6 separate regions of the Homo sapiens genome follow, and all the other regions are linked to region 2. The links are contacts of gene promoters, found by promoter capture Hi-C in blood cells and fetal thymus (Javierre and others, 2016). All regions are on one chromosome and are shown on one strand. Each heading gives the region's core, a stretch centred on a gene start or on the middle of the fragment in contact. The rest is flanking DNA. Distances are from core to core; before and after follow the strand shown.

Evidence for each region. The method cuts DNA at HindIII sites, captures the fragments that hold promoters and counts their contacts. A CHiCAGO score of 5 or more calls a contact.
Region 1: a fragment that was not itself captured here is called in contact with the fragment with the promoter of PTPRT in region 2 in 2 of 17 cell types (endothelial precursors and M2 macrophages); the score reaches 13.4 in endothelial precursors.
Region 3: a fragment that was not itself captured here is called in contact with the fragment with the promoter of PTPRT in region 2 in 5 of 17 cell types (endothelial precursors, monocytes, M2 macrophages and 2 more); the score reaches 23.1 in endothelial precursors.
Region 4: a fragment that was not itself captured here is called in contact with the fragment with the promoter of PTPRT in region 2 in 1 of 17 cell types (endothelial precursors); the score reaches 9.8 in endothelial precursors.
Region 5: a fragment that was not itself captured here is called in contact with the fragment with the promoter of PTPRT in region 2 in 1 of 17 cell types (M2 macrophages); the score reaches 5.4 in M2 macrophages.
Region 6: a fragment that was not itself captured here is called in contact with the fragment with the promoter of PTPRT in region 2 in 1 of 17 cell types (endothelial precursors); the score reaches 6.1 in endothelial precursors.

Annotation. Positions count from the first base shown.
Region 1 is chr20:41,713,439-41,717,737 of GRCh38, forward strand. No RefSeq gene overlaps it. Among named protein-coding and RNA genes, the nearest start is that of CHD6, 97 kb to the left of the region's middle. The HindIII fragment of the contact is 1,326 bases long and covers 2,002-3,327 here.
Region 2 is chr20:43,187,826-43,192,324 of GRCh38, forward strand. It overlaps PTPRT (protein tyrosine phosphatase receptor type T), which reads right to left and starts at 2,081. Exons shown (of 31, transcript NM_007050.6): 1 at 1,821-2,081. The coding sequence starts at 1,908. It overlaps PTPRT-DT (PTPRT divergent transcript), which reads left to right and starts at 2,240. Exons shown (of 3, transcript NR_186414.1): 1 at 2,240-2,425. The HindIII fragment of the contact is 4,711 bases long and covers 1-4,009 here.
Region 3 is chr20:41,750,361-41,754,509 of GRCh38, forward strand. No RefSeq gene overlaps it. Among named protein-coding and RNA genes, the nearest start is that of CHD6, 130 kb to the left of the region's middle. The HindIII fragment of the contact is 2,394 bases long and covers 596-2,989 here.
Region 4 is chr20:41,786,737-41,791,278 of GRCh38, forward strand. No RefSeq gene overlaps it. Among named protein-coding and RNA genes, the nearest start is that of CHD6, 170 kb to the left of the region's middle. The HindIII fragment of the contact is 699 bases long and covers 1,277-1,975 here.
Region 5 is chr20:41,925,487-41,929,862 of GRCh38, forward strand. The region is part of intron 1 of LOC101927182 (a long non-coding RNA gene); the gene reads left to right. Among named protein-coding and RNA genes, the nearest start is that of CHD6, 310 kb to the left of the region's middle. The HindIII fragment of the contact is 2,175 bases long and covers 954-3,128 here.
Region 6 is chr20:41,904,628-41,909,306 of GRCh38, forward strand. All of the region lies in intron 1 of LOC101927182 (a long non-coding RNA gene), which reads left to right. Among named protein-coding and RNA genes, the nearest start is that of CHD6, 290 kb to the left of the region's middle. The HindIII fragment of the contact is 810 bases long and covers 1,016-1,825 here.

The DNA.
Region 1 (4,299 bases), core at 1,415-3,914, 1.5 Mb before region 2:
CCCTCTTATACACTCTTAGAATACTCTATTTTTTACTCTGAGCTCTTATTACAGATAATATTTCTACAGTTGTTCAACATTTCATTCAGATCTGCCTTTCCTACTTCCAAGCTCCAAAGGACAATGATCACATCTGTCTTCTTCCTCTGGGTAGCCTTATCACGTAGCACAGTGCCTGGCACTAAGTGAACTCTCAATAAATATTTGGGGGTGCATGAATCATCTCTAGAAGGCCCAGTGAGAATTCCAAAGGGCATGTGCACCCATGCAAACATTAAGGAATTTATTCCGTACTCTCTTATAATCTTGGTAAGTTTGATAAAATATTATCTATTTTATCTGCTCAGTCTGACTTCAAAAGTCCATGGGGGAAATTTTTATTTCAAAGCACTTCCTATACTTAAACTTTTGAAAAGGAAGAACGACTAGTATTTCTCCCATATTTCCATTCTGTCTTGAGCCATCTAAGCTCAGAGGCTGGCCAAGGCAGCAAATGAAGTGAGAGGCCATTGATATGCAAATATGATCATTATCACTGAAGGCCACACCCCAGAACTTGATCTCAGCGCTTTCACAGCCAAAGCCAATTTACATTAAAAAAATTAATTTTCCAAACTTGAATTTAATTTCCAAAGCTAAAATGCATAGAAATTAAACTACTAAAACATTGCATTTTCAATAGAACACATTGCTATTTTTTGGAGTGAGAGTTGGCTGTCTTCCAACAATTAGGTTCTGTTTGGCTTGTGAAAGAGGTTCTGGGTTGTTAAGGATGGATACTCTTGACCTTGGACTGACCTCTGCAGTTTCCCTGGAGCACGGACAGCCAAGCAGTAAAGTAGATGCTGGTGGAGATATTGCTACTGTTTTTGAGAAATGGAAGCTGAGACCCAGAAAGACTATGTGATATATTGAAGACTCAAATCCAAGTCTTCAGATTCTAAGTACTGAGGTCCTTTCTCAACATTTTCTCTTAAAATGTTTGGCTCTTTAGGGCAGAGCCCAGACTCACCAATGCCACACATGCCTCCCATTTGCCTGCTAGACTTTAGAGCTTTGGAATGGATCTGCAATCTCATAGAAAAGAGGTAAAGCAAATTCCTTCCAGGTCATAGCAAGAGGGTGGGGTGTCCTTTAACTGTCCTGATGCCTAAATTTGGTTTTACACAAAATCCCCAAGATGCTGTAAAATCACTTTTGTAGCTGGATGCCAGGGTCAGAATTGATGACTTGAGAGGCAGAGGAGCAGAGCTTCTGCTATGACCTCAGGAAAATGAGATGTGGCTGCTGAAGCCCAGAGCTTGGCTCCCAGCAAACCTCAGCCCTGGTTGCCAATGCCATCTCCCACTGCTGATGGATGATGGCCCACTGGCTCCTGCACCTGTGGATAGCTCTGATTTCTGCTTTCAACCTGTAGCCACGTAGCCTTTGGATTAAAATATTGTCCTCTGATTCAGATGATTCTTTTCTTCTCTGCAACAGGGCCACCGTAGGACATATATAGTAGTTAGCAGTGCAGGTTTTGCTGTTCACTAGCTCTCTGGTCTTTAGCAAATGACATCTTTTTTTTTTTTTGAGATGGAGTCTCGCTCTGTCTCCCAGGCTGGAGTGCAGTGGCACCATCTCGGCTCACTGCAAGCTCTACCTCCTGGGTTCAAGCCATTCTCCTGCCTCAGCCTTCTGAGTAGCTGGGACTACAGGCACCCGCCACCACGCCTGGCTAATTTTTTTTTTTTTTGTATTTTTAGTAGAGACGGGGTTTCACCGTGTTAGCCAGGATGGTCTCAATCTCCTGACCTTGTGATCCGTCTGCCTCGGCCTCCCAAAGTGCTGGGATTACAGGCGTGAGCCACCGCTCCCAGCCACAAATGACATCTTTGATCCTTGGTTTCCCCTTCTTTATTAATAGACTCTGTAAAGAAGGTTTCCTGTGCGCTGGTTACCCACTGGTCTGAGTTTGGTGAGACAGAACACCCATGCTCACAACAAGTTAAGTAAACAAGCTTATTACTTACAGATAGGCAGGCAGCAAGGGACAACAGAAACCGAGGATTCATTGCCACCCAGTCCTCCAAGGTTCAGGAAAGCTGCCTGGGTGGATGGAGTCTCAACTGCATGTGCTCCACTTTCATAGCAGCTGAGGGACCTCAGAAAGCAGCCCACACTGAGTTTTATACCTCGGGGTTACAAGACCCTCTGGGCTAAGCCTGGAAGGACATCTCATTTCTAGGGAGGGATTGGAACAGAGCCTGGACTGTCCTGACCAGCTCCCCTCTTATCTCAGGATGTTTTATTTCCAGCATGTCCTGCAGTTATTCTTGAGAACTACAGATAAGAAATGGGGGGAGAACTGTCTTGGTCTAAGGCCACCCAGAGAACTGTGCTGCAGATCCCACATCTAGAGTTCTCTTGAGGGTCAAATGAGATATCATAATGGGAAATGCTTAGCTTAGTACCTGATATGTAGCATTTTAAAAAAGGTAGTTATTAAGTTAGAAAAGGGACTATCTGCAGGATCCCTGCATGGGAAGAATGCATGGGGACACTGCATGCAGATGCTTAGGAATGCTTTGTGACAAACAACATCATGGGAGGTGGCAGCTCAAGAAAGTTGATCATACTTGTGCTTTTGAAACCTTGTGAGCAGTGTTAAAGCAGAAATATGAAAGGGAAAACCTTTACATGACAGCTTTCTATGTTTTATTGACATCCTGGCTAAGCTGGCTCCCTGACCTGGGTCTGGTTGATTCAGAGCTGGTGAACAATCATTATCTTGCACAAGGATGCACTAGGAAGGACCACACTCTAGCCCAGCTGGTCATGCAGTCATGTTGGGAAGTGCTGGTTGGCCCAGGGAAGCCATTCCTGATGGATCAGAGGAAAAGGGAAGGGAGAAGTAAATATGAAAAGAAGCTCAAGCCCAGGCTATGACCAGGAGAGCCAATCCTTCATTTGGAGCGCCACTCTTTCTTTGCCCAGAAACCTGCAGGTACATGCAAGTCCCTGGGAGTGGCTCCAGGAAGCCCCCCTCGGGCTCTATGTTGCTTTTTTTGAGTTAGACTCTCTGGCATAGACTTTGTCTTTGAAAGAGGATTTGTAAGTCGCTGTTTATTTATTCTTTTACTCATTCATTCCACATTCATAGAGCACTGGATTAGTCAGGTTCTCCAGAGAAATAGAACCAACAGAAATAGAACCAAAGACATGCATTATAAGAAATTGTCTTACATGATTATGGAGGCTGACGTGTCCCAAGATCTGCAGGGTGAGTTGGCAAGCTGGAGGCTCAGGAGGGCCAATGGTGTAGTTGTGGTCTGAAGGCTAGCAAGCTTGAGACCAAAAAAAAGCTGATGTTTAAGCTCTAGCATAAAGGCAGGAAAAACTCAAAGTCCAGTTTGAAGACTGCTGAGTAGGAATAATTCCCTCTTATTTGGGAGAGGATCAGCCTTTTTTTCTATTCAGGCCTTCAACTGATAGGACAAGGCCCACTCACACTGGGGAGAGCCAACCTAATTTACTCAGCTCATTGGTTTAAATGTTAATCTCATTCAAAAACACCCTCACAGACACACCTGGAATAATGTTTGACCAAATATCTGGGCACCCTATGGCCCAGTTAAGTTGAGACATAAAATTAATCATCACAGGGACCAACAATGTGTCAGGCATATTCCAAGACACCAGGGACACAGCAGAGAACAAATAAACATGAGCCCTGCCTTCATGGAGTTTACCCTTTAGAGGGAGGGTGGATCAAAAATCAAGTCAATGAATAAGACTTTTAGTGAAGGATGAGCATTATGATCAAGGGTGGCTGTTTCATTCTGGTGATCAGGGAGGACTTTTCTGGGCAGGTGACACTTGAATGGAGACCTAATTACATAAAGGAGCTGGCCATAGAATGTGCTGGGGGTAGGGGGGTGTGTTCTAGGCAGGGGAGTAACCAGGCAGGACTGAGCTTGGTGAATCTCAGGAACAGAAGGCTGGTGGGGGGAGCATGGTTCCGGGTGGGGGCAGGGTAGGGGTCAGTGGGGGACCAGAGAAGGCAGAGGACAGATCATGCAGAGCCTGTAGGCTGGGGAAGGAGGCTGCGTGTTATTCATTCGGCCTGCTGACTCACCCCAGTCCTTGGCTAGGACAGCAACCCTGCTGAAGGACCAGGATCTAAAAGTGTCCCTTCCCTCAGCAATGATGCCCACACTTCTGTGCCTTTGCACAAGCTGTTCTCTCTGCTGGGATGCCTTCCCCACGTTCTCTGTCCAGAGATTGCCCAGATATCCTTTAAGACCCAGCTTACAT
Region 2 (4,499 bases), core at 831-3,330:
CTGCTGAATAAACACATTACTCATTTAAAAATTGAAAAGAAGTTCTATTCCTGATATGAAAGCAACCAGATTTGCATTTTAATAGTTGTGGGCGAGCGCCACCTGGCGGGAGCATCCGGAACGGGCGGCGTTCAGCACTGGACAGCTTCCCGAGCCGGTACGGGTTTTACCGCTTGCTACCCAAGAACGATTCGAGACCCGTGATGGAATATTTTTGATCCTGTTTCTGCCGCGGGAACGTGAGTGGTATTAATGTGTGGTTGGCCGGTCATGCCTTAGAGGATATAAAATCTGAGTCACGAATCATGCCTGGATCCCCAGGACTGCCCCGGGCATCCTCCCTAGTACCCCTCCCTCCCCTAGCACACCTAACACACCCCCCAAAATGAGGAAAACAAGAATTGTGCACCATCTTTAGAATGGTGCTGTAGCTGTCCCTCTTCTCTCACTTGCTAATCCAACCTTTCAGCTTCACACACCTCAAAAGGAGTGTCTTCGTCACCCAACTTCCCAGCCAGGGAAACAGGCTGTCCCTTCACAGAAGTCGCCTATTCCGCTTCCATTTTAGTACCAAGCAAGGAAGGCTCTAAAGCATTTCCAACGGAATGTCCTTCCAGCGGCCCTTAACCTCAGACGCAGCTTGTGCAAAGACGCTGTACCTCCCCACAGGTTCGTTCTTTTGCTCTTTCTTTCTTCCTTTCCTTCTTTCGGTGAAATAATAAATGGGCACAGCTGTTGCTTAGCGATCCGAAACCAGCCTGTTCCTGCGTCCCACGGGCTGATCTCAGCCTGTCCCCGCAATCCCAGCCACCTCAGGCCGGCGTGGTTACACCAAAAGCAATCGGTGCTAAGAAACTTTAAGGTGATTTTGAACTTGGAAGTACACCTGCAGCACTCCCTTCTCTTCCCTCCGCCGCTACTCTTGGGGGGGGGGGGGCTCGGGGGTGGAAGCTGCCTGCGGTGGGGCTTGGTGATGTGTAAGACCCTGGACTGTGGTGCCCTCCAGCACCCGCCAACGTGCCTTTAGGAGCACGGCAGGCACCACCCCCCCGCCCCCGCTCCCCCTACTCTGGGGAACTACCTCTGCTCACCGCCTTCCCGTGGCCAAACCCAAATATGAGTTCCCCGAACTTTTCAGGAGCGGACGCGCTCACGGGTCAAATCCACTCCCCTCCAAGGGCCTTAACACGGGCGCCCAGCTACCTCGGAGAAAAGCCAGCGGGTAGGGCGGAGGTATTGCTCTCGGTCATCAACGCAAACATCCCCTCGGGTGCCTACAGCGGCCTGCTTAGGGGAGCAGCGTGTTCAGAGCAAATGGAGAGCTTCCTGTATCTCCGAGGAAAAAAGAAAAGCCGCCGCCCCGGCAGCCTCGGCCTGCTGGGGACCTGTCCTCCCCACTAAAAGCGCGCGCTGCCCGAGGAGCTGCCCGGGAGAGAACGCTCCACCCCGGGCGTCGGTGCCGCTCCTCGTCTCGCCGCCCCAAACACTCAAGTGGCAGATTCCGACAAGTGGGAGGCAGCAAGTGGAAATATTCGCAACAACCGCGGAAAGTTACTCCAGCCCGGGGGGCCGGCAGGAAACTGAAGCGGGGAACTTCGCCAAACGCGGGCTGCCGAGGGACGCGAGGGGCCGGGCTCGCTGGCCGGGGCGCGCGGGGACACTGCTTCCCGCGCCTGCAAGCTGAGACCCGGGTTCCGGCCATGGGGACCCGCGCCCCCGCGAGCCCACACAACTTTCTCCTCCGAGGGCCCCGCGGCTGGGGGCCCGCGCGCATCCAGGAGGGAGCGGGGAGCCCAGGGGAGCCGGGCGGGCGCACTCACCTGCGGCGCTCTGAGCCCGGGCGCCGGGCAGTGGCGGCAGCTGCAGCCTCAGGAGCAGGCTGAGGGCGAGCGCGGCGAGGCTCGCCATCCGGGCGGCGGCGGGCAGCTCAGCCCCTTCCCGCGGGGGCCGGGGCCGGGACTGGGGCGGGCGCGGGGTGGCCCCGCATCGCCGGCGCGGCCGCTGGCTGTGCGCGCGGCTGGCTCCGCTCGGGCTCCCGGAGCCGGCGCTCCTGCGTTCCAAGCCGAGGCGCGGCGCGAACTGAGGCGGGAGGCTGGGCGGGGGCGGGACGCGGGGGGCGGGGGGCGGTGTCCCCCGAGTCCTAACGCCGCCGCCGTTGCCGCCGCCGCCGCCGCCGCCGCCCGCCCGGGCGCTCCGCCTCGGCCGTGCACACACCCTCACGCGCACGCCCGCGCCTGGCACACGCCCGCGGCTGGCACACGCGGGCTCCCCCGCGCACCCTCTCCGGGGCCGACCAGCTCGGGCCGCTGGCACAGTCACGCGCGTCCACACATCACCCCCGCACCCACACGCCGGGCAGGGTCCTCGCCTCTTCGCCCCGCGCCGCGCCGCGCAGCCAAGCATCGTCTGCCCTGTGGGGGCGCAGGTACGGGGGCGGTGCGGGGAGGAGGAAGCTGCAGCAGCCGTTTGAACTCGGGGTGGGGAACAGGTGAATGGGGGTTCGGTGGCGAGAAGAGGGAGGGAGGGAGCAGCCCTCGCAACTCAAGATAAGGGGCCAGGTGAATTGCGAAAGCGGGTGGGGGCGTCTGCCCAAAGCTGGGGCAGGCGGCTGCTGGCCAGGGTCTCGGGCACACCCTGAGATGAGAATTTCATCTAAGAGCGCGCGCGCGCACACACACACAACCCACTCACACTCTTCTGGGCGCATCGCTGACCGCGCCACAATCGTCGTCCCCCTCAATTAGCCGCCCACCCCACCTTCTTCTTCACCCACATCTCTCTCTTGTCCCCACCACCACGCGGAAGGGGGCGCAGAAGGGGCATGAGGCATCCCCCCACCCCCTACAATTTTTCCCTGGCAGCCTTCCCTTTCCTTTTCTAGGGAGACAGAACCTTGTAGCTTTTTCCCTTTTCTTCTCGGTCTTAACAAAGACCTGGTTGGGGCTGAAAGCCTAAAACCATAGATCAGGGTTGGAGCTGTCCCTGGCAGCCCACGGCCCACAGCCTGGCTCTCTGCTGTCCTGGGAGGCAGCTGGTACCTGAGTCTTGGCTGGGGGTCTGAGATGTAAAAGCCAGGGGCAGGGATACCCAGAAATGCTTAAGGGATTCACACTTTGTGAACACTTTGCTACCTGGCCAAAGCCCTCCTTCTTCTGTGTCAGCACAGCCCCCCACCCCCATCCTTGTTGGGGTACCAGGGACTGGACTGGGGAGACTGTAAGTGAATTGTGAAAATCAAGCATGGCAGGGTTTCCAAAAGTGGGGAGCCCCAGGCTCTGGACCCAAGTTGGCATGGCAGAGAACACAGGGCGTCACTCTGTCAGTCCCCAGTTCCCAGTCCCCACTAGGTAAAGTGGCCCAGTTCCCTGGCATGGAAGCCCAATTTACAATCCCAGGCAAATTCTTCCACCCCTCTCCGGACCCCGACTCCCACCACCACCACCATGACCGTGACCACTTTCAAAAGCTGACGTGCTTGGACTAGCCTGTTGGACCAGCCAGTGCCTCCCACACTTGCCTGGTCAAAGAACTACCAGGAAGATTTCTCCAAGTCCTGCTTCCCAGACCCCTGCTGGGGAGAGTGGAATTTGGCAGGCCTGTCGGGGGTGGCCTGGGAGTTGAACCTTTTACAAGCTGCTTTGGAGATTAATAATTCTACCAATATTTATGGTGCATTTAATTGTGTGCCTTACTCTGTGCTGTTCTCTGGGGATACCACAATGCTATAGCCCTTAGGGACAATTGGAATGGAAAGATCCCTTCTGCTCAGAGCTGAGCTTCCAGCTGTTTGCTCCATCACTCACTCATTCTAACCCTGCCTTGGGCAGATGAGCAGTTAGGAAGTGTGCGAGGAGAGGCCTGACCCAAGACCACCACAAGCGACCCCAGTCATGGCAGATCCCAGGGGATGACCCGGGTGGGGAGATTTCTAAGCCACTAAAGAGCTTGGTGTCACACTTGTAACTTGTTGCCACTTTCTTGGGCTCCTGCCAATTCATCCCCTCTCTCAAGCTTTCTGGAAAACTATAAAATAGCAGTTCTCACAGCATCCTCAGAGCAACGCCCTTTGGCACCCCCCTGCACTCCTGCTTTAGGGATGTGATATCACTGCAGACAAATCCCCCAGGTCTGAATGGGGTTCATGTGGCCCCGAGGGGAAAAAAAAAATTCAGTAGTCACTGAGCTGGTGGAGTGGGACCTGATCCTGCACCAGGACTTACCTGCCCAGGTGCACCGTGGTCATGAACCGTGACCCTCTGTGCTTTCTAAACCTCCCTCTACTCCGAGAAACTGCCCCCTCTCCTTCAGTAGCACGTGCTGCCACCTGCTGCCCGGCCAGGCTCTGGCACCCACAGCACTGCCACGCTTTTGCACCGGCCAGTCCCTCTGCCTGGAAGCCCTGCACTGTATCATCTCCCTGGGAAACTCACACTAGCCCTTAGGGCTTCCCTTTGGAACTTTGGCCAGCGGGCCCTTCCTGCTCAAGGCATGTTCCCCAG
Region 3 (4,149 bases), core at 543-3,042, 1.4 Mb before region 2:
ACAGAAGCGCCGCCTGCTAGTCGTGGCTACCCCACACCAGGCAGCCTGCAACCCCTGTATGGGCTGCAGCTGGACGGAGCTGCTGTGGACATATCTCTATTGAACTGCTGCTCTGCCATTGCAGACACAGAGGGTTATGCATCATAGGGAAAGCATGGAGAAGTAAGTGTGGGCCCCTCTGACTTCCACGGATGAGGCTGATTAATCTCATAAGTAGAAAAAGCCTTGCATTTTGTCATCTGTAAAGTCTTTAAAAAAAATCCTTGTTCTGAAAATAAAGTGAAATAAACACATACAGTGTATGTGGTACAGGGTCTGACTCACAGTGAGTGCTCTGGTTTCAGACACACTGAGCTCACGACTCCAATATTTGTTTGATAAACCTTGGCCTTGGAATCATCTGCTGGGCAGAGCCCACCAAGCTGCCCCTCTGCCCTGTCCTGCACAGCATGGCAAACTCAGTCTCTAAACTCATGAACATTCATGGATGTGCCACTGCTAGTAATAAATGGCAATAGTGCACATTCATGGGGCATTGTGTAGTGTGTTTATATCTGCTATGGTGTGAATGCATCCCCCAAATTAATGTGTTGGAAGCTTAATCCTCAGTGCAACAGTGTTGGGGGCTCAGGCCTCATGGGAGGGCTCTTTAGGTCATAAGGCTTCTGCCTCATGAATGGATTAATGCTGCTATGAAAAGAGCTTGCAGGAGTGAGTTTGTTCTCTTCTGCTTTTTTGCCATGTGAGGACACAGCATTCATCTCCTTTTTGTCCTTTCACCTTCTCCTATGTGAGCACATAGCAAGAAGGCCCTCACCAGACACCAGATGCTGGTGTCTTGATCTTGGACTTGGCAGCCTCCAGGACTGTGAGAAAGCCATTTCTCTTCTTTATAAGTTACCCAGCCTCAGGCGTTCTGTTATAGCAGCACAAACGGATTAAGACAACATCCATTACTCTAATTTAAGCTGCAGCAAATTTTTGCTCAAACAAAGATAGAAGTTATAGGTTAACTAGAAACAAACCCACTTTTATAATCTTTACAATAACAGTATTGAAAATTATCCTCATTTTATAGATAAGGAAACATTTATCCAACAATGAAACGGAGTGTCTTCTGATACTTCCCCTTTTCTCTTTGTTTCTCTAAGAACCATGTTCTTTATTCATTGCCACTGTCCATGTTAGTTCTCATTTGGAGAATTGCTACAGTCTCTTTTTTGTTCTCACTGCCTCAAAGTTCCCTCCTCCATCCTACTGTTCACTGCAATTGCTCCAAGACTAAAAAGTAATCATGCTACGCCTCTGCTTAAAAGTGAAAATTAGGCCGGGCATCGTGGCTCACACCTGTAATACCAGTGGCTTGGGAGGCTAAGGTGAGAGGATTGCTGGAGGCCAGGAGTTTGAGACCAGCCTGGGCAACATAGTGACGCTCTGTCCCTATAAAAAATAGAAAAATTTAGCTGGGTGTAGTGTGTGCACCTGTAGTCCTGGCTACTCAGGAGGCTGAGGCAGGAGGATTGCTTGAGCCCAAAAGTTTGAGGTTACAGTGAACTACCATTGTGCCACTGCACTTCAGACTGGACAACAGAGTGAGACCCTGTCTCCAATTTAAAAAAAAAAAAGGTGCAAAGCAGTCCCAGTTGTCCCCTGGATAGAGTCCACATTCTTTAGTGTGATGCCCAAGACTGTCCTTTGTCTGATACATGTCAACTTTTCCAGAATTATTTCTCATCACACCTTGCCCTGAACGCCACTAACATTCTTTCATATATGCCAGGGTAGACTTTGCTCAGCCTGAGCCTATACTGGTTTATCTATTTAATTTTTTATATTTTTAGAAATAAGAACTCTTGGAGCTTTTGAAAAATAACAAACTGAGCTCCATTTTCAAATTAATTAATTTCTGTTATCTTCAGTTATTCCTTCTGTTCCCTCTAGTTAGGATTACTTGATTGTTTTAACACCCCGTTCTGCTCCCCACTCCAGGTGGGCTCAGCCCCCTTGGCAATAGTGAGGGTAGGGAGAATATTCAAGCAGAAGTTTTTCTTGCTTATTTTGATCCTAGGCTTTGTTTTCTTGGTGCGTGGTTACCTTTATGTACCCACATTGACTAGTAGAACTGTCAAAGCTGGGTGTATGTGAATTTTTACCTGCACTGACTGATGACAGGAGAGTCCATAGGGTAGAAGTTAGTCTGTAGCACCCCACAAGTTTTGAAACCTACCAAGTTGGTTTCATACTTTATAAGACCTGAAATCCTCTTTTTTTGATTTTCTTTTTAAAATAATTCCATTTAGGTCCCTTCCTGTATTTCTTCTGCAATTTTTCTATTTCCACCTACACGGAACCATATAAAACCATATTAAGTAGGCATTTCCTGTTGTTTCTTCAGTCATTCTACTTTAAAATGAGGGTCGTTGTCTTAGACAACCTTGTTTGTAGTCCTAGGCAATCTTGTTTGGTACCTGAGGGATAATCATGAGAAAATGACAAATCTTACAGTAATATACATATTTGTACAAGTGTGCAAAGATGTATGAGTAAGAATATTTATTGCAGCAGTGTTTGTAATATCCAAAATTGTAAACAACTGAAATGTCAGTCGAGAGGGAGCTTGTTAAATGCATGTGATTACAGCCATACAACTGAATATCATGTTTCCATTGAGAGAAGCCTATATGTACCAATATGGAGGGTTACCATTTATATGCTTAGGTGAAAAGAACAAATTTTATGTAAAGTACAAAAGTATGATTCCATTTCTGTTAAAAAGAGATTATTATATACATATATACCCTTCATAGCCTGGAAAGTTTTTAAAGGAATATTCGCCAAATTGTAAAATTAGTTAAGGTATTGGTTGAGGGGTGGTTGTAGTAGGGAATGGAATTACAGAAGAGAGGACTTCATAATCTAATTTATATATTCCTGAATATTTACTTTTATCTTTACAAAAACAATGTGTTACTTTTATAATCAGGAAAAAAGCTTTAAAATGTATATCTTCTGAGATGCAACTACAGCAATTATAAGTGGAAAATTTATTGCCTCTAATGCTAGAATTTCTAAACAGAAAGAATGAACATGAACTTATCGATAAATAAAATATGAGTAGATTTCACACTGGTTTAGGAATAAATGGACATAAGTAAAAAGTAATCAAAGCACAATTAAATAGAACAAATACAGGGACACAGATTAATTTTGACACCAGCTGGAGCCAGCAACACATCTAGCAAATCTAGCATCTATCTAGTTATGCTTCTGTGAAAAACATGGTTTGCAAAACCTTTGAAAGGAGCAACCAGGTCTTATAACTGGTGGAGCATGTAGCTCAGTGCGGTTTTGATTTCTGATTTTTGTTTGAAACAAAAGTTGTTCAGGAGACAGGATGTTTCTTACTAATTAGGCTTCCTTTTTTTGTTTGTGTCAACTTTTGTGCCATTTTTTGTTACTCAATTTTATGGTATTTTTGAAGAATGTGTTATGTGCTATTTCTTTTTTTCTCCTTTATTTTTAAATTTCAATAGTTTTTGGGGACAGGTGGTTCCTGGTTACATGGATAAGTTCTTTAGTGGTAATTTCTGAGATTTTGGTGCAGTCATCACCCGAGCAGTGTCCACTGTACCCATGTGTAGTCTTTTATCCCTTACCTCCCTCTTGCCCTTCCGCCTGAGTCCCCAAAGTTCATCACATCATTCTTACGCCTTTGTGTCCTCAAACTTAGCTTCCACTTATAATTGAGAACATACAGTTTTGGTTTTCCATTCCTGAGTTACTTAGAATCATGGTCTCCAACTTTATCCACTTTGTTGTGAATGCCATTATTTCCTTCTTTTTATGGCTGACTAGTATCCCATGGTATATAGATACCATATTTTAAAAATCTACTCATTGGTTGTTGGGCATTTAAGCTCGTTCCATATTTTTGCAATTACGAATTGTGCTGTTATAACCATGTATGTGCAAGTGTCTTTTTCATATAATGATTTCTTTTCCTCTGGATAGATACTGAGTAGTGGGATTGCGGGATCAAATGGTAGTTCTACTTTTAGTCCTCTAAGGAATCTCCATACTGGTGTGGATTTAGTAAGTTTTCTTTAGAATTAACTTCTGTAAACAATCTATGGGGCCTTAAAATGTATG
Region 4 (4,542 bases), core at 376-2,875, 1.4 Mb before region 2:
CTCTTTTCTAGCTACTTTGAAATACAGCATATGACATTGTTAACCATAACCACCCTCTGGGAAATAGCACACCAGAACTTATTTCTCCTATCTGTGACTCTCTACTCATTAACCTATCTCTCCCTTCTTCTCTTCCTTCTACCTTCCCCAATTTCTGGTAACCACTATTCTGCTTCCTGCTTCTATGAGATCAGCTTTTTTAGATGCTGCATATGAGTGATATCATGCAGTATTTATCTTTCTGTTTCTGGCTCACATCACTTAACACAATATTCTCCAGGTTCATCCACGTTGCCACAAGTGGCAGGATTTTATTCTTTTTTTTATGGCTGAAATGTATTCCATTGAGTATATATACCACATTACAAAAAATCCATCTGTCTATTGATGGACACTTGGGTTGATTCCATATCTTGACTATTGTGAATAGTGCTGCAGTAAACACGGGAGTGCAGCTATCTCTTCGATACTCTGATTTCCTTTCTTTTAGGTATATACCCAGTAATGGGATTTCTGGATCACATGGTAGTTCTATTTTAATTTTTTGAGGAACGGCCCACTGTTTTCCATGGTTGCTGTACTAACTTGCTGTTTCATCAGCAGTGTATAAGTTCTTTCTTGAGATCCTTGCCAGCATTTGTTATCTTTTGTCTTTTTGATGATAGCCATTCTAACTGGGGTAAAGTGATATCTCATTGTGATTTTAATTTCATCTCCCTAATGATTAGTAGTGTTGAACATTTTTTCATATACCTGTTGGTCATTTGTACGTCTTCTTTTGAGAGATGCCTGTTCAGATTTTTTGACCGGTTTTTTTTTTTTTTTTTTTTTTTTTTTAAGATGGAGTCTTGCTCTGTCACCTAGACTGGAGTGCAGCGGCACCATCTTGGCTCACTGCAACCTCCACCTCCTGGGTTCAAGCAATTCTCCTGCCTCAGCCTCCCGAGTAGCTGGGATTACAGACACACGCCACCATGCCCGGGTAATTTTTGTATTTTTAGTAGAGACTAGGTTTCACCATATTGGCCAGGCTGGTCTCAAACTCCTGACCTCATATGATCCACCCACCTCGACCTCCCAAAGTGCTGGGATTACAGGCGTGAGCCACCACACCCAGCCCTTTTTGCCCATTTTTAAATTGGATGTTGTTTTTTGGCTTTTGAGGTTTTTGCATTACTTATATATACTTGATATTAACCCTTATCAGATGTGTAGTTTGCAAATATTTCTATAGTTTTCCTCTTCACTGTGTCGATTGTTTTCTTTGCTGTGCAGAAGCTTTGTATTTTGATGAAATCTCATTTGTCTATTTTTGCTTTTGTTGCCTGTGCTTTTGTGTTCTTGACAAAAAAATCTTTGCCCAGACTAATGTCATGGAGGATTTATTCTAATAGCTTATAGTTTTAGGATCTACATTTAAGTCTTTAATCCATTTTGAGTTGATTTTTGTATATGGTGAGAAATAGGGTCTAGTCTCATTCTTCTGCATGTGAATATCCAGCTTTCCCAGCACCATTTGTTGAGTGGTTCTTTCTCCAATGTGTGTTCTTGGCACTTTTATCAATCAGTTGCTGTAAGTACGTAGGTTTATTTCTGGGTTCTCCATTCTGTTCCATTAGTCTGTGCATCTATTTTTGTGCCAGTACCATGCTATTTGGTTACTATAGCTTTGTTGTATATTTTGAAGACAGGAAGTGTAATGACTCCAGCTTTGTTCTTTTTGCTCCAGATTGCTTTGGCTATTTAGGATCTTTTGTGGTTCCATATACATTTTAGGATTGTTCAATATACGTTTTAGGACTTTTATATTTCAGTGAAGTACATCATTGGTATTTTGATAGGGATTACACTGGATGTGTAGATTGCTTTGGGTAGTATGAACATTTTAAACAATATTCTATCAATCCATGAACATGGATGTCTTTATATATGTTTTCTTCAGGTTTTCATCAATGTTTTATAGTTTTCATTGTAAAGCTTTTTCACCTCCTTGGTTAAACTCATTCCTAGGTGGGAGGCTGAGGTGGGATGATCACTTCAGCCCAGGAGTTTGAGACTAGCCTGGGCAACATAGTGAGACTTCCACTTCTACAATTTTTTTTTAAATTACCTGGGCACGGTGGAGTGTGCCTGTAATGTTAGCTACTTAGGAGGCTGAGATGGGAGGGTCACTTGAGTCTGTGATGTTGAGACTGCAATGAGCCGTGATGGTGCCATTGCACTCCAGCCTGGGTGGCAGAGCAAGACCCTGACTAAAAAAAAATTCCTAGGTGTTATTTTTGTGGTGATTATAAATGGGATTGATTTCTTGATTTTTTTCTGGATAGTTCACTATTGGTGTATAGAAACACTATATGTGCATTGTTTAAAAAATCAGCTACTGTTAGGACATACTTATTAAATTGTTTAGCTCTAACTAAAGATGAGGTATTTCTGTTAATCATGAACATGAAAAAAATTGTGGAGACACTAAGGATCCTGTCAACAGGGAAAGTGGGGGGGAACTTCTGTTAGGTCCTAGCAGGAAACCAATGGCACACTCAAACTGGATAATTTAAAGAGAGTTTGAGAAAGGAATTTTTTTCAAAGATGTGGGAAAGGTATAGAGAAATCACAAGGAATAGGCAGTATCCTGAGGTTAGTACTGGGGAGAGGGAATTGGAAAAGTTGGGAGGAAAAAAGAGGGTGGGAGGGAAGAAGTGGTTATTACAACCTGTAGATCATGCTGTGGAGAGAGGCCTGTCTCACAGTAGTAAAGAGCTTCAGCTCAGCAACATGGTCAGCTTCAGTTCTTGGCATAGAGATCTGGGAAAAGAGGTGCCCTGACCTCACTCTTATCCTTCCCTCTCTCCCAGTTTCTGCAGGTGTTCCCCACTGGCCAAGCCCAGGAGAGGGCAAGGGAGCCTCTTGACATAACCACAGGACTTAGCTTCCCTGGTACAAAAGAAGGTGGAAGACTAGTCCTGGAAGGGCAACCAGGAGCAATCCAATATATTATGATACAGCTAAATTTGAATCTGCTGTTGCTTATACAAAGAATAGTGAATCCTTCTCAAGCTTCAGAATCAATAAGAACACGCATTTATCAAGCACTTTACTGTGTGCTCTGCTGAGTTAAGCACTTTACAGGCATTATCTCATTTAATCCATAAACAACCTTACCAAGTAGATTCTATTGTTCACTCCAAAATGGAAGATAGAACAAATACATGGCAGCATTGCTGTGAAGAGGAGAGAAAATGAGGAGGAGAGAAAATGCATCAAGGTAACTTCCTTCATGTACATAGTGGGCTCAGTCAATGGAAAAAAAAAATTTTGTTTGCTTTTTTGAGACAGAATCTCACTCTGTTGCCCAAGCTTGAGTGCAGTGGTGCAATTTCGGCTCACTGCAACCTCCACCTCCTGGGTTCTGGCGATTCTTGTGCCTCAGCCTACCAGTAGCTGGGACCACAGACATGTGCTGCCATGCCCAGCTAATTTTTTTTTTTTTTTTTTTTTTTTTTTTTTTTTTTTTTTTTAGTAGATACAGGGTTTTACCATGTTGGCCAGACTAGTCTCAAACTCCTGGCCTCAAGTGATCTGACCACCTTGGCCTCCCAAAGTGCTGTGATTCCAGGTGTGAGCTACCATGCCTGGCCATCAATGGAAATATTTTTTGCTATAATTTTTTTTTTTATTAAAAAATCTTTCCAATAGGGAAGAAAAAGTGTTGGCCAACTAACATAAAGGTATTTCTTTCCTTGGCACTTCCATTTCCCAGTCAAAATTCACAAAATGGCCTCTGGCTCTTGCGAGTTAGATGAGTGGTCATTAACATTCTGGATTCCTCCAGAATCCAGTTACTTTTGTGTTTCCCATTCTGCAGTGTGGTGGATGAAACCAATGCCATGGTGGCCTCACCAAGGTGCCACATCCCACAGAGACCAGGCTGCAACACTGGCTTGTCATAGTTATGCCATGGTGGCTCTCAAAGGATCCCCACGGGGAACACCAAAATCACATCATGGTGGCCTTTTCCCTACTCATCAATAACATCAAGGTCTTGGGATAGAACTTTCTCAATTCTAACTTTTTCTTCCATAAATTTTCTTTAAACTGAGCCAAAAATGAATGAACAATAAACATTAATGGGAAATTTTAAAATGTGATTTTTAAAGGAGTGTTTTATGTATTGTTACTTTTTTGAGATGCAGAAACCTGCATGCATATAATATAGCCATATTTTCTGGTAGTAAAGTTGTTGCTGACTCGTGTGACAGAATTAAGTGCATCAATTTTTTCTTGTGGTTATGCAGAAAGCATCCCATCTTCCCAATGTCTGAAAGAATTTGAAACTACTTTGATAGAAAAACTTGCATATGGTATAAAATTTAGGCTCTAGGAACATTGTGAGCATTACCACTATCATCATCATCACTGTCATCATCACCTCTGTCATCATTATGAAGATCATTTCTTTCCAAGGGAATCAAAATGTGTCCTCTGTGTGTCTTCGCTACATTATATTAAGCAGTGGTTCTCAAAGTGAGGCTTCTGGACCAA
Region 5 (4,376 bases), core at 791-3,290, 1.3 Mb before region 2:
TGGCTTCTGACTCTTTAAAGACCCCAGGTACCCACCCAGTGTGGTGTGGTGCTCTTTGAAATGCCTCTTCTCTCAGCCTTCATTTTCCTCCCAGGTTTGGGATCGGAAACTCCTGACTTTGGTGCTGGAAGACAGGCTGTTCTGTGTTCTCGAGTAGGAAGTGTCTCTGCCAGGCTTGAGCTGGCTTAAAATGGATCTGCCATACATTGATAGAAAAGCCTTTTGGATCTGTTCATGCAGTTATCGCTCACAAACTATCTTGTAGTGTCTATGGTGATGCCAGTTCCTGTGTGTGTATGTGGCCAAGTAGGGGTGGGTTGTTTACATATATGAATCAGGATCTTTCTTCTCCACGAAATTTATTTCATTCATTCAGAATTTACTGAGCATCCACCACATGGCAAATGCTGTGTACCTACGTGCTGGACATATAGAGGTGCAAACAAAGTCTCATGTCTTTCCTCACATGTCTTAGACACTAGCGGAGAATAGAGACAAAAAAGTAAACATGCGGCTGGGTGCCGTGGCTCATGCCTGTAATCTCAGCACTTTGGGAGGCCGATGCTGGCAGATTACTTGAAGCCAGGAATTTGAGACCAGCCTGGCCAACATGGTAAAACCCTGTCTCTACAAAAAATACAAAAATTAGCCAGGTGTGGTAGCACATGCCTGTAATTTCAGCTACTTGAGGGGCTGAGGCACGAGAATCACTTGAACCCAGGAGGCAGGTGTTGCAGTGAGCCAAGATTGCACCACTGCACTCCAGCCTGGGTGACACAGTGAGACTTTGTCTCGAAAAAGTAAAAAAAAAAAAGAAAGTAAGCATGAAAATACAAACCATGATCGTTTTATGCTATAGATACAAGAGGTTTCTACTTACAAAGTTGTATTCACATTTCTTGAGACAGTGTGGTGTGGTTGGCAGTGCATGAATAGCTTATCTACATTTTCTAAGCTTTATTTTGTATTTTCAACTACAAATTTAAGGTCCTAGCTTGAATTGAATCATAGCTGGTACCACTTGTGGAGGTTTCTTTCTAAGGACTGTGCCTAAGGTGAAAACTGAGCGTAGTCAAAATTTCCCCCTTAAAAACAATTACAAATCCTTTCAATCACTCACAAAGTCCAACATATACATAGTTTTCTGTATACATTACAATGTATAAATTCATAATTTAAGCAATTCATGGGCAATCATATATAGTATTTGAGTTGATATGCAAATTTTAATTTTGTACTGTATTTGTAAATTTTTAAAAATGGCTAAACTATGAAATTACTAATATTTGAACATTTTTAACCTATACAAATTATAATTTCACCTGATCCAACCCAATAAATAACTATTTTTCTCTTTTGCCTTATACAGCATTAAATTGATGTTATTCTATATGGGACTCTAACTGCAAAGAATTGTTCCAGAGATATCATTTTTGGGGTGATAGAAATATTCTAAAAATTGGGATTGTGGTGATGGTTACACAACTCTGTAAATTCACTAAAAGTCATTAATTTGAACACTTACAATGAGTGCATTTTATGGTATATAAATTGTGCCTCAATAAAACTATTAAACAAAATGAAAGAGCTCAAGACTAGACACATGGATGAGGTCTGGTATATGGAGTTTTCCATGATGCCTTTGATGAGGTATCTCACAACATCCCTTTTGAGTTAAGTCAGGTCTGGCTACTCTGTATAAGGAAAAGGCTCAGAGGGATAAGGTGACTGAGCCAAGGTCACACAGCATGTACCTAGCAGAGCAGGGATGGAAATACCATCTGGCACTGAGACACTAGGCTGATTCCATTTCTTTTCATGCAACCGGGATTGGGGGAGCTCCCTTCCTTCTCACTATCCCTCTGAATGCTCTGACATGGTTTGCTCCAAAGCATATCTTGGGAACTGAGCAGCCTGGGAGTGGAATGACTGTGGAAAATGGATTTGCACAACTGCCTCCCTGGGCAGCCCACTTTGGAAACCATTTGTGACCTGTAATTGACCATGACGATATAAAAATTGGAAGCTGAAAATTACAAACATGTGAGGTTATTAGATGGTGAAATTGCAGCTTCCCATCAGCCTGCTGCTTCCTGAATTCTCAGTTTTGCTTTTGGGGGCTAGAGCTTGGCAAATCCTCATGATACACCCCCTCCCTTGCCTGAATGTGCTCCAGGCTACCTGTTTCCCCTGCTCAGGGGAAAAAGAACAAGAACCCTGATACCCAGCTGGGTGAGCCACTAAGCAGAGGAGAGAAAAGCCTCTACTTGTCCCATCAGGTTCTATCACATTGCATCCCTTTGAAGCTGTGCATCTGATCTGAGTCATCATCAGGGCTCCCCACTTGCTTGGCCTGACAAGGGCTTGCAAGGCCTCCAGTTACCTCTCTGACCTCATCACCCTCACTCTAACCTTAATCTCTCCCTGCTCACGATGATTGACTAACCTGGCTATTCCTCCAAAGTGTCAGCACACTCCTGCCTCCACATGTTTGCACTGGCCGTGCCCTCTACCTGAGATGCTCTTTCCTCAGACATCTTCATGGCCAGCTCCTGCAAGCCTTTGGCCAAATGTCACCCTTTCAATGATGTCTACCCCGACTACCAGGCTCTATCAGCCACCCCCAGTTCCTTATCTCCTTACTCTGCTTAATTTTTTCCCACATTGCTGATTATCTTCCACAACAACATATCATATAATTTACATATCCCATTTAGGATTCATTGTCCACTTTTCTCCTGGGGATATCAGCTCCTCGAGGGCAGTGAAAGTGCCTATTTGTTTACTGATACATCCTAAGTGCTCACGAAGAGTGCAAATTAATCTCCAATAAAACTTCGTGGCATCTTTTTTTAATGACAGCTTTAGTGAGGTATAATTCACATACCATGCAATTCACCTATTTAAAGTGTGCAATTTAATGTTTTTTAGGATGTTTGCAGGGCTATGCAACCATCACCACAAATTGAACATTGTCACCACCCTCAAAAGAAACCCTGTACCCTGTAGCCATTTTTCATTTCTCTCTAACCTCCTGTTAGGAGAGGCAGCCACTAATCCACTTTCTGTCTCTATAGATTTGCCTCTTTGAACGTGTTATATAAATGGAACCATGCAGTATATTTTGAAGCTTTAACCATGTTGTAGTGTATACTAGCACTTTCATTTTAGAGCTGAATAATATTCCATTGTGTGAGTATATTGCATTTTATTGATATATTCATTAGCTCATAGATACTAGGGTTATTTCTACTTTTTGACTTATAAATATTGCTGCTATGAACATTCACATATAAGTTTGTGTGTGGACATATGTTTTCTATTATCTTGGGTATATACCTAGGAGTGGAATTACTGGGTCATCTGGTAACTCTCTATTTAACCTTTTGAGGAACTCCCAGATTTTTTTTAATGGCTGCACCATTTTATAATCTTACCAGCATTATATGAGGGTCATGTTATGTGTTTTAAAAGTTAAACACCTCAGTCAACAAAGAGATCCTAAATGTTTTGCTGAATAAAATATTCTGATGTCATTCAAACACATGTCACTGTGTTTCTTTCAAATAGGTATTTTTGAGATGACTTTTCTCCCTTCTCCCTTCTCTGTGTGTTTCAGACTCCCATTCCCTAGAAACATTGTGAAAGAAGTCTTGGGAATTCGCAGGGATACAAGGATGCCTTTGAAACTGATGTATTAAACTAAAGTGAGGTGGTCCTGGCCTCTGGTGGCTGAGCACTTTTGTGCAGTGTGGCCCTTATAAATAACAGGGCCTGGTTGTAAATTGTGATTCTGTAGTCTTTTTCCACAACGTGTAGAACAGTGCTGTACATAAAAGTGGAACTTGGACATAACAGGTGTTCAGTTATTATGTTTTAAATAACTGGCTGAAGTAATCATGGCAGGTGTACTCTCAGATGTTGGGAGTGCTCAAAATCGACTTACTTCCTCAAATATTTGTTGTTCCTTATAGTGATGAGGGTAGAGCAAACATTGTTGGTGCCATGCTCAGATCCCCCTACCTTCAGCCCACACCAGAGGTTACCTGCAAACTCTTCCGGTATGTGGTGGCAGCTCTGAGTCTCTGTCTGAGGGCATTTTTTGGTCACAGATGGTTGTTCACCATGCATTTGGAGCAGCCACAATTTCTGGGGACCCCAGGAACAACTCAATCAATGAGGGCTGGAAGTTGGTGATAAATACCCCAGCTTACTTGCCAGCCAGTTGAGGAAAAATCCTTGGATGTAACCACAGTCTCAGGATCCCTACTGGGATTGGGCCCAGTGGCCCAAAGTGGGAACCAGCCCTCTTTTCTGGCTTACTTTTACTTCCTGTCCCATTCCCCACTCCCTCTTGGGGCTATTGGGATAACATC
Region 6 (4,679 bases), core at 171-2,670, 1.3 Mb before region 2:
GTCCCTGAAAGCTTCCCTATAACCTGCCCCCACCTTTGCAAATGGTTCTTTTATTAAGTCCTGTTCATGTGATCCCAGTATGAGTTTGTCTATGCTTCATGCAAGGACCCTGGCTGTTACAGTCTCAAGTTGCTCTGCCTCTGTAGGAAAACAGTGGTATCTGAGAGGTAAGAGTCAAAAAGATAAAAATAGCATGGCTGGATATGAAAGAGGTGGTTTCAGTTGCAAGCAATAGGAAACAGTCCCAGCTCACTTAAGTGGAAAAGGAATTCATTGGTGGGATATTGGGTATGGCTCATAGAATTGGGAAGGCTGAGGACCAGGCAGGAAGCTGGGCAGCAGGGACCACAGGGACATTCTGGTTAGGATGATGCTGCTGGTTACTGCTGCTGTGAATGCATTCTCAATTGTAAATGCATCTTTGCTTCACTTCCTTAGGGTTCAGCATCCCAGGTAGGAGCATCTGCTTGGCCAATGCTGGGTCACATACAGGATCCTAGTTGCAGGAAGGGGAGAAGTTAAAGCTTCTCTCTTCCATCTGCGTTGGCTTCTTTCCTTCCTCCCCTCCCCATCCCACCAATAGTTACTTCTGGTTTCTCCAGGGCTGGGATTGAGAAGAGAGGAGACGTATGGTCAGGAAAGGTTGTACTTGGCGGGTACTGTCATGAGCTGGTGTTACTAGTCTCTGGGATTGGCAGCTGTTCAAAGCTGAGTCTTAACTCTCCTTGACCGAATCTATCTTCCTTCTGTCTGGCCATCTGGTATTCTATCTCTTCTGTTGGGAATCCCATCCCAGCTGTTTCCTCCCAGTCATTCTTGGGAGAAATCCAAGATGACCCTGGTATGGCACCCCTCCAAGGGCTGCTCAAAACCTATATTTTTCCTTAGCCTTTGGAGAAGGCCAGAAAGCATTTAATTTTATCAATCTCATACAGTCTGGCTGCTTGTATTGGAGGCAGTCGGCTGGTGTAAAGGTTCAGGGTGGCTTTAGAGCCCACTCTAATAAACATTGAGAAGCTTTGCTCTCTGCACTCATCTACACAGAAGCTGGTTTGATTTTATAAAGACCACCCCAGAACTATCTATCCAAGCTCCCAGACATGAGCCAAGGTGGAGATAGCCCAGAAGGAGACATAGATGGTTCTCTTGGAACAGGGTTTCTCCCAGAAAGGATTTTCAGACAATATAGAGTTTCTATCAATTTCTACCCTTTCCTAGAAAAAGAATAAAGCCTTCTAATGATATTTAACACTTCTAAATTTCCACTTAGCCAAGAACAATGGTGCCCAGTCTGTCACAATTGACCGTGTTTTATTTGATTGTTATGTGAGCTTTCATTATGTTTCAAAGGCCTCATTTGCCATTTTAAATAAGCATTTATTGTTATTGTATATCAACCTATGAACTCAGGGCTCTTAGTTAATCTTGTCTTTTTATTTTTTTTATAAGACATCTGAGTAAATGTAAATAAGGGTAACTTCAGCAGTTTAGGGGTCTCGATAGGTCAAACTAGAACCACAGAGACTGGGACTTGGCTCTAGCCTGATATTAATAAGAAGGTCCTATCCCACATGATTTCCGCTTTCCCTGCCCCACTACCCCTGAGCTATGAAAGGTCAAGACACAGGCTTTTGAGAAAGGATGGAGGCCAAGGAGGACTTTACTAGGTAATTACTATTATCTCAAAGAAATAGAAAAGGTACCAATTGTCATTTCTTTATGATACTAAATTTTAGGAGAGATTTCTAAGATGTTCAAGGATGATGAATATATAAAATACTGGTTTTATTATACAAATGGATCTTGGGATAATATTAGTGTTGGAAGCTTTTGGGGTCTCTGCCTAATAGGAAGGATTTTTCTTTTTTTAATTTAGCCATTTGGGGGGTACGGATGATGCAGATATAAGAAGTCAAAGACATTCTTTGCATTTGAAGCAAAAGCATCTCAAATCGCTATTATCTTCACCATTACCATCGCCACCCATAATATCTTCATAAATCTTTATGCACATTCTTTATTACTTTCTTTAGATAAATTCTTCCAGGTAAAATGACTAGCTAAAAGCATATGAATTTTAAAACTTATTTTTAATGAAAAATTTTATATATTTTATAAAAGTAGAAAAAATAGTGTACAAAGATTTTAAAATCTTGTAACATGCATTGCTTAGCTGCCTTCTGGAAAGTACCATTAAGTTGCACCCTCATAAGTCTTGAGAATTCCCATATCCTGACATTGTGCACAGGACTGGACTTTAAGTGTTTTTGCTCAATTCACTGAATGAGAAATGGCATCACATTGTTGTTTTAATTTTCATTGGTTTGTTTAGTAGTAAGGGTAAACATTTTTCCATATATTTTTGGTCATTTGTTTCATGATTTCTTTATTTATATACTCTGTTCAATTTGCCACTGCCTATTCCTTTCTTACTAATTTGCAAGAGGTCTTTAAAATTTAAGAATATTAACCCTTTTTCTGGTAAGCACATTGCAGTTATTTCAATTATTTTCTCATTTGTCTTTTGCCTTCCAATTTTCTTCATTATGTTTCTTGACATATTGAAATATTATATATAATAATATGTTATATATATATTATATATATATATATTTTGAGACAGAGTTTCACTCTTGTCACCCAAGCTGGAGTGCAGTGGTGTGATCTCAGCTCACTGCAACCTCCGCCTCCCGGGTTCAAGTGATTCTCCTGCCTCAGCCTCCCGAGTAGCTGGGATTACAGGCACATGCCACCACGCCAGGCTAATTTTTTTTTTATTTTTAGGAGAGATGGGGTTTCACCATATTGGCTGGGCTGGTCATGAACTCCTGGCCTCAAGTGATCTGCCTGCCTCGGCCTCTCAAAGTGCTGGGATTACAGGTGTGAGCCACTTTGGCCAAAATATTACATTTTTATATAGCAAAATCAATCTAGTTTTTACTGGTGGTTTTCCTTACTTTGGTTACTTGCTTAGGACTCAAACATATACATTTCTCTCTCTCTCTCTCTCTGTGTGTGTGTGTGTGTGTATATATATATATATATATATATATACACACACAAACAAACACACATATGTGTATATATACACACACATATACACATATAGATGTTTTTAATTTACACATATAGATGTGTATATCTGTGTGTATATATACGTGTGTATATGTGTGTGTATATATAACATACATATATATGTGTTTATATACATAACATATAACACACACACGTGTGTGTGTGTGTGTGTTGTCCCTTGATATATGCAGGGGATTGGTGTCTGACCTTCCAGGATACCAAAATATGCAAAAGTCAGCCCTTTGTATTGATAAAAGAGAAACTTTAGTTGAATTAAATTTAAAGGAGTTTAATTGAGCAATGAATGATTTGTGAATCGGCAGACCCCAGAATCACAGCAGATTCACAGAGACTCCAGCGCAGCCACATGGTGGAAGAAAATTTATAAACCAAAAAAGGAAATGACGTACAGACATCGGCAGAGAGGTACAGAAACAGCTGGATTGGTTCCAGGTTGGCGTTTGCCTCATTTGAACACAGTTTGAACACTTAGTCCTCTGAGTGTTTGAAGCACGGCTGCTGGGATTTGCCAAGACTCAGTTATCGTTACAGGCGCATGCTCCTAAGTTAGGTTCTCAATCTTGTCTGACTATTAAGCTAGGCTACAGTTCATCCACAAGGACTCAAATAGAGAAGCACAGAGTCCTTCTCAGACCATATTCAGTTTGCTTCAACAGTATACCTGGGTTTCTCATCCCTGAAATACTGTATTTTCAATCCACATTTGGTTGAAAAGCATTCACGTATAAGTTGACCTGTGCAGTTCAAACTTGTGTTATTCAAAGGCCAACTGAAAAAAACTACATATTTAACACTTTAGTAGTTTCATTTCCTGTATTTAAAAATCTTTAATACGTCTGGGATTTTTTTGGGTATGTGAATAGTACAAGATAGTATTCTTGGGATTTTTCCTTTTCAAGTAGTTAAATAATTTGAACAATCCTTATTAATGTAGTCTTTTCCTATTGATTTAAAGTGCTGCCATTATTACATACTAAATATTTATGTCTAAGGCTTTTTATTGTGTTCATTGATCTGTCTAATCTTGTACAGTACCCAAGTGGTTTTATAATTGAAACTGTATATAAGGTTTTACTTTTTGACGATTTACCCTGTCTCTAATTCTTCCAGCCAATATTTCCTCTTTTTCTAAATTTTTGGCTTCTCTCAGATGTTTATTCCCTAAACTTCAGAGTTGTTCTTACAATTTTATCAACTGCTTTAAATTTATAATTGATTTGGCATAATTTATATTTTTATATATTTAAGTCTTGCCCTCAGGAGCATTTTGTCACTTTCTCTTCTATGGAGGGAAGGGGCCATATTCTATGGCCTCGGTAAGGTTTGGATGTGTTCTTCATAAAATGTTTACTTGTTGATAATTAAATTTATTCTTGGAGATTTTATATTGTTGTTACAGCTATGAATAGAATTTCCTCCACTTTTTTTTTTTTTTTTTTTTTTTTTTTTACAGATTATGGCATGTATATAGGAAGGTACTCATTTTTAATATGTATTTTGTAACCGCCAAATTTAATGAACTGTTTTATTAGTTCTAATACTTTAGAGTTGATACTTGTGTTTTCTAAGTAGAAACTGGCATC